2 separate regions of the Homo sapiens genome follow, and region 1 is linked to region 2. The links are contacts of gene promoters, found by promoter capture Hi-C in human tissues and cell types (Jung and others, 2019). All regions are on one chromosome and are shown on one strand. Each heading gives the region's core, a stretch centred on a gene start or on the middle of the fragment in contact. The rest is flanking DNA. Distances are from core to core; before and after follow the strand shown.

Region 1 (2,841 bases), core at 126-2,625, 1.4 Mb before region 2:
TAGAGATGGGGTTTCACCATGTTGGCCAGGCTGGTCTCAAACTCCTGATCTCAGGTGATCTGCCCGCCTCAGCCTCCCAAAGTCCTGGGAGTACATGTGTGAGCCACCGTGCCCGTTCTTAAAAATTAAAGCTTATAAAATAAAAATGTTGCAATAAGCTATGGTTAATTCATTATTGAAGAAAAATATTTTAAAATAAATTTGAGTGTAGTTTAAGTGCACAGTATTTATGTAGTGTACAGTAATGTCCTAGACTTTCACATTCATGCCCACTCACCACTCACACACTGACTCTCCCAGAGCAAGTTCCAGTCCTGAAAGCTCCTGCATTTATAGTAAGTGCCCTTATCTCAGAACGGGGATATTCTCATCACTAGTTGTGGTAATATCCTCAGTTCACAAATTCAGCTGTGCAAAAATATAAAACTTAATTTTTCTATAATTCAACCTAATTTCTGTTTCAAGCTTCCCATTCAGCTGGTATAGAAACTTATGTCCTGTATAGAAGTGTCATTTTTTTTTTTTTTTTTTTGAGACAGAGTCTTGCTCTGTCGCCCAGGCTGGAGTGCAGTGGCGCGATCTCGGCTCACTGCCAGCTCTGCCTCCCGGGTTCACGCCATTCTCCTGCCTCAGCCTCCCGAGTAGCTGGGACTACAGGCGCCCGCCACCACACCTGGCTAATTTTTTGTATTTTTAGTAGAGACAGGGGTTTCACTGTGTTAGCCAGGATGGTCTCGATTTCCTGACCTCGTCATCCGCCTGCCTCGGACTCCCAAAGTGCTGGGATTACAGGCATGAGCCACTGCGCCCGGCCAGAAGTGTCATTTTTAAATAATCTTTTATGTCACACTTTTACTGTCTCTTTTCTATGTTTATATACACAAATACTTCCTATTGTGTTACAATTGCTGACAGTATTCAGTACACCACCGCGATGTCCAGGTTTGTAGCCTGGGAGCAGTAGGCTATATGCTATAGCCTTGGTATGTAATAGGCTATACTATCCAGGTTTCTGTGAAGTGCACGCGATGATGTTCACACAACGAAATTGTTTAACAGCACATTTCTCAGAGTGTATCCCAGTTTTTAAGTGATGCCTGACTATATTTCTTTTGCAGGTCTGTTATTGCTATTTATCTCTTTATTTGTAATACTTTGGTGTCATTTAGTTTTAGCTCTTTTGCTTTTAAATAGTACATGAGTTGCTCTTATATAAATAGTTATAGATGCTCTTAAATAGCAACCATTTTTTTAAAAATCAAATTTAAGAATCTCTTTTAATTGGTAAATTTAATATGTTTGCATTATGTAATAGATAATCTATATTTATTTCTGCTGTTTTATTTTGGTTTCCCAACTTCCTATTTTTTCTTTATTTTCCTTTCCTTGTTTCTCATGGGGTTGATCAAGTTGTTTTTGTTGTTATTTCAGATATGATATTTTTCCTGTGCTGGACTTAAAATTACATTTTCTATAACTTTATTAGCAAACATACATTTTTTAAGCAATTTCCAGCACAAATCTGTAAATACATCCCTCTGGTTGACTGAGATGAAACCTTAGCATAGTTTTATTATGAGTTGAGTTGGGTGAGGCCATGTCCACCCATTTTTCCCCCACCCCACCTTGATAACATCACCTAGAATTTTTATTTCAAATTGTTGACCACACCCCTTCCACTATATCAGCCCTCCTGAACATGGAGATGCAGCCGTGAAGACAGACAGGGAGACAATTACAGATTTCTTAACTCATTCAGGCAGCTATAACCAAATACCATAAACTGAATAGCTTATAAGTAACACAATTTTATTTCTCATGATTCTGAAGGCTGGGAAGTCCAAGATCAAGGCAACAGTAGATTCAGCGTGTGGTGAGGGCCTGCTTCCTGATCAATAGATGATGCCTTTTCACTGTGTCCTCACCGGATGGTGAGGGCCTGCTTCCTGATCAATAGATGATGCCTTTTCACTGTGTCCTCACCGGATGGTGAGGGCCTGCTTCCTGATCAATAGATGATGCCTTTTCACTGTGTCCTCACCGGATGGTGAGGGCCTGCTTCGTGGTCAATAGATGATGCCTTCTCATCATGTCCTTACATGGTAGGAGGGGCAAGGGATGTCCCTGCAGCCTTTTTTATCAGGGCACTAACCCCATTCATGAGGGCTCCACCCTCCTGACCTAATCACCTCCCAAAGGCCCCACCTCCTCATACTATCATCTTGGGGGTGAGGATTTCAACTTATGAACACAAACATTCAGACCATAGCAACTGAAAATAAGTTTCTATCCCAGCTGAATGGGACGCTTGAGACAGAAATTAGGTTGAATTACAGAAAAATAAAGTCTAATTTTTTTTGCTCAGCTGAGTTTATGAATTGAGAATATTACCACAATTAGTGACAAGCCTGTCCCCATTCTAAGATGAGAGCTCCCCTGGGGTGGAACTATGGCTGTTTCCTCTCTGGACTCCCAGTGCACAGGCCATTGCACAGAGTGGACAAAATGAAACATCTGGGAATGCTTCCTGGGTAGGAAAGAGGAAAGCACCTCAGTAGCCGAGAGCTGGCCTGGTATCCTCAGCTAGGCCTTGGTGCTCTACTGTTGAACATGGGCAATTTTGCAGGACATCAACATTGGACATGGAGACTCTGAGACTGTGATGCCTTAAGACCCAATCCAGACCCCTCATAATCATGTTTGAACAGAGTCAACATGAAACTTATCCAGAGGTGCATGAAAATCACTAAATATCTCCCAATCTGGGCTGCCATGAGGAACTGCTACGTCTTTAGCAATCACAGCCTTTGTCTCTCTCTATTCTCCTCACCTTACAGAAAA
Region 2 (2,711 bases), core at 165-2,664:
CACCCAGCAGGACATGCCCAAACTTCGTCGGCAGATCTACAAGGAGCTGTGTCACTGCAAACTCACTGTGTGAGCCTCGTACCCCAGACCCCAAGCCCATAAATGGGAAGGGAGACATGGGAGTCCCTTCCCAAGAAACTCCAGTTCCTTTCCTCTCTTGCCTCTTCCCACTCACTTCCCTTTGGTTTTTCATATTTAAATGTTTCAATTTCTGTATTTTTTTTTCTTTGAGAGAATACTTGTTGATTTCTGATGTGCAGGGGGTGGCTACAGAAAAGCCCCTTTCTTCCTCTGTTTGCAGGGGAGTGTGGCCCTGTGGCCTGGGTGGAGCAGTCATCCTCCCCCTTCCCCGTGCAGGGAGCAGGAAATCAGTGCTGGGGGTGGTGGGCGGACAATAGGATCACTGCCTGCCAGATCTTCAAACTTTTATATATATATATATATATATATATATATATATATATATATATATATATATATATATATATATATATATATAAAAATATATAAATGCCACGGTCCTGCTCTGGTCAATAAAGGATCCTTTGTTGATACGTAAGTGGTGGTCTTCCTTAAGGGGCTTCAAATTAGTGGATATGCTTAGCTCAGACCTTCCAGCCAGTCTCTTGAGACTAAAGGGTTCAGCTTTCCATCCCTGGCTCAGGCACTGCCAACACCTTGTCTTCACCCAAACAAATCCCCGAGATGGGAGCAGAGAGCAGGAAGGAGGGAAAGTAGATAAGCCTCAAGAATAAGGGCATCCGAGAGGGAAGCTGGGGAACTGGACACAAGGGACTGGGGAGGGGACCAACCAGGATTCATGATAGTACCCCAAAGCCCTTTACAGTTTTCTTCCATCCCTCCACCATCCAGCCAGGGGAATCCTCCCATCCCTACGATATCGCTGTTGATTCCTTCATCCCTGGCACACGTCCAGGCAGTGTCGAATCCATCTCTGCTACAGGGGAAAACAAATAACATTTGAGTCCAGTGGAGACCGGGAGCAGAAGTAAAGGGAAGTGATAACCCCCAGAGCCCGGAAGCCTCTGGAGGCTGAGACCTCGCCCCCCTTGCGTGATAGGGCCTACGGAGCCACATGACCAAGGCACTGTCGCCTCCGCACGTGTGAGAGTGCAGGGCCCCAAGATGGCTGCCAGGCCTCGAGGCCTGACTCTTCTATGTCACTTCCGTACCGGCGAGAAAGGCGGGCCCTCCAGCCAATGAGGCTGCGGGGCGGGCCTTCACCTTGATAGGCACTCGAGTTATCCAATGGTGCCTGCGGGCCGGAGCGACTAGGAACTAACGTCATGCCGAGTTGCTGAGCGCCGGCAGGCGGGGCCGGGGCGGCCAAACCAATGCGATGGCCGGGGCGGAGTCGGGCGCTCTATAAGTTGTCGATAGGCGGGCACTCCGCCCTAGTTTCTAAGGATCATGTCTGCGAGCCAGGATTCCCGGTAAGAAAGGCATTTGCAAGAGATTGTGGCTGCTTATTTTGCCGCCCCCTTCCGACGGGCCCGCCGGGGGTAGCTGAGAGGCCCACCAGGGTTGCGGGAGAAACCGAACCGGGTGGGGGGAGGGTCCGACTTGGAGGGGCGAGGGGGAAGACCCACGGCCGACGCGGCCACCAGGTCGAGGCGGAGGGTAGGGACAGCCCGGCTAGGGTCAGGCGTGCGAGGTCTGTTACGAGGCCTCGACCCGAGGCGGTGCCATGCGCGAAGCCCCGGCGCTGAGTGGCGAGACGGGGTCGCGACCTGGCGTGGGAAAGAAAGGTGGAGGCGGCCGCCACTATGTGTGGCCCAGAGCCGGCAGGTCCGGTTGCCTCCCTGTGCCGGGGGAGGGACGGCGCGCGGGGTTCCGGAGCATTCTGACGGTACCACTCGCGAGAGGCGGGGGTGCCTGGTCCTTAGATCCAGTCACTTCGTCGCGGCTAAAACACGGGTCGGGGAGAAGAAACCGGCCGTTCAGTGTGCTGGTTTTCTTGACGGCCAGGACTGAGCCTAACCCCGAGGAGCGGCCGCGTGAGGCACCAGGAGCCCACCCGGCGCCGGGCGGGCGGGTCCATTTTGCCGCACAAGCCGGGCTATTGGCAAACTGCGGATGGGCAGGTCCACCTTCCTTCGGGGGTGAGCGGCCTGAGGTATGGGAGGGCGACGCTACTTCGCGACGGGGGCGGGCGGGATGTGGATTGTTCATGGAGGGGTGGGAGACGCCGCCGGGTGGTCGAGGGAGCGAGCACATGGTGGCCTGAGGCGTTCCCCTCCCCCAGTCTGCTTCGCTTCTAAGTGTTGTGCAATCTCCCCCTTTGCTAGCTCGGCTTGGGCTCATTGTGCGCGAGGCCGCCACCGCCCGCGGCCTCCCACATCCGGGCAACGCGAGGGGGGGGCTTCGGCTGGAGGGAGTGGGGGAGGGCGCGGGCGGGATGACGTGGGGGGAAGGGGATGTCCTACCCTCCGATCTGGGAGGTGAAGGGCGGGACTTCCAGCGCGCTGGTGCTGCGGTGGGAGGTGCACGCGCTTGGGCTTTAAGCGGCTGGGTCGGGCCCACGTGGACCCGGCGGCAAGCACCACCTCTGGGCACCGTGAGCGCGGCGGCACGCCTGCCGGCCTGTCTTCAGAAAGGGTCACCCCCTTATGTCGGGGGTGGCCTGGCCTGAGCCGCTGCCTGCATGGGGCAAATGCCTCAGTTTTATAGAAACTCCTCCTTTGGGTATT

Evidence for each region. The method cuts DNA at HindIII sites, captures the fragments that hold promoters and counts their contacts. A contact is called where the count stands out against the background at its distance.
Region 1: a contact is called between a fragment that was not itself captured here and the fragment with the promoter of EIF4A1 in region 2, in 1 of the 25 tissues and cell types used here (esophagus).

What each region holds. Positions count from the first base shown.
Region 1 is chr17:6,198,449-6,201,289 of GRCh38, forward strand. No RefSeq gene overlaps it. Among named protein-coding and RNA genes, the nearest start is that of WSCD1, 130 kb to the left of the region's middle. The HindIII fragment of the contact is 5,717 bases long and covers 1-2,841 here.
Region 2 is chr17:7,571,411-7,574,121 of GRCh38, forward strand. It overlaps EIF4A1 (eukaryotic translation initiation factor 4A1), which reads left to right and starts at 1,415. Exons shown (of 11, transcript NM_001416.4): 1 at 1,415-1,454. The coding sequence starts at 1,432. It overlaps SENP3 (SUMO specific peptidase 3), which reads left to right. Exons shown (of 11, transcript NM_015670.6): 11 at 1-559. The coding sequence ends at 73. It overlaps SENP3-EIF4A1 (SENP3-EIF4A1 readthrough (NMD candidate)), which reads left to right. Exons shown (of 22, transcript NR_037926.1): 11 at 1-69; 12 at 874-1,454. RefSeq lists enhancers at 753-812, 843-892, 913-972, 1,093-1,162, 1,669-2,424 and 2 more and silencers at 1,333-1,392, 1,403-1,462, 2,363-2,502. The HindIII fragment of the contact is 10,064 bases long and covers 1-2,711 here.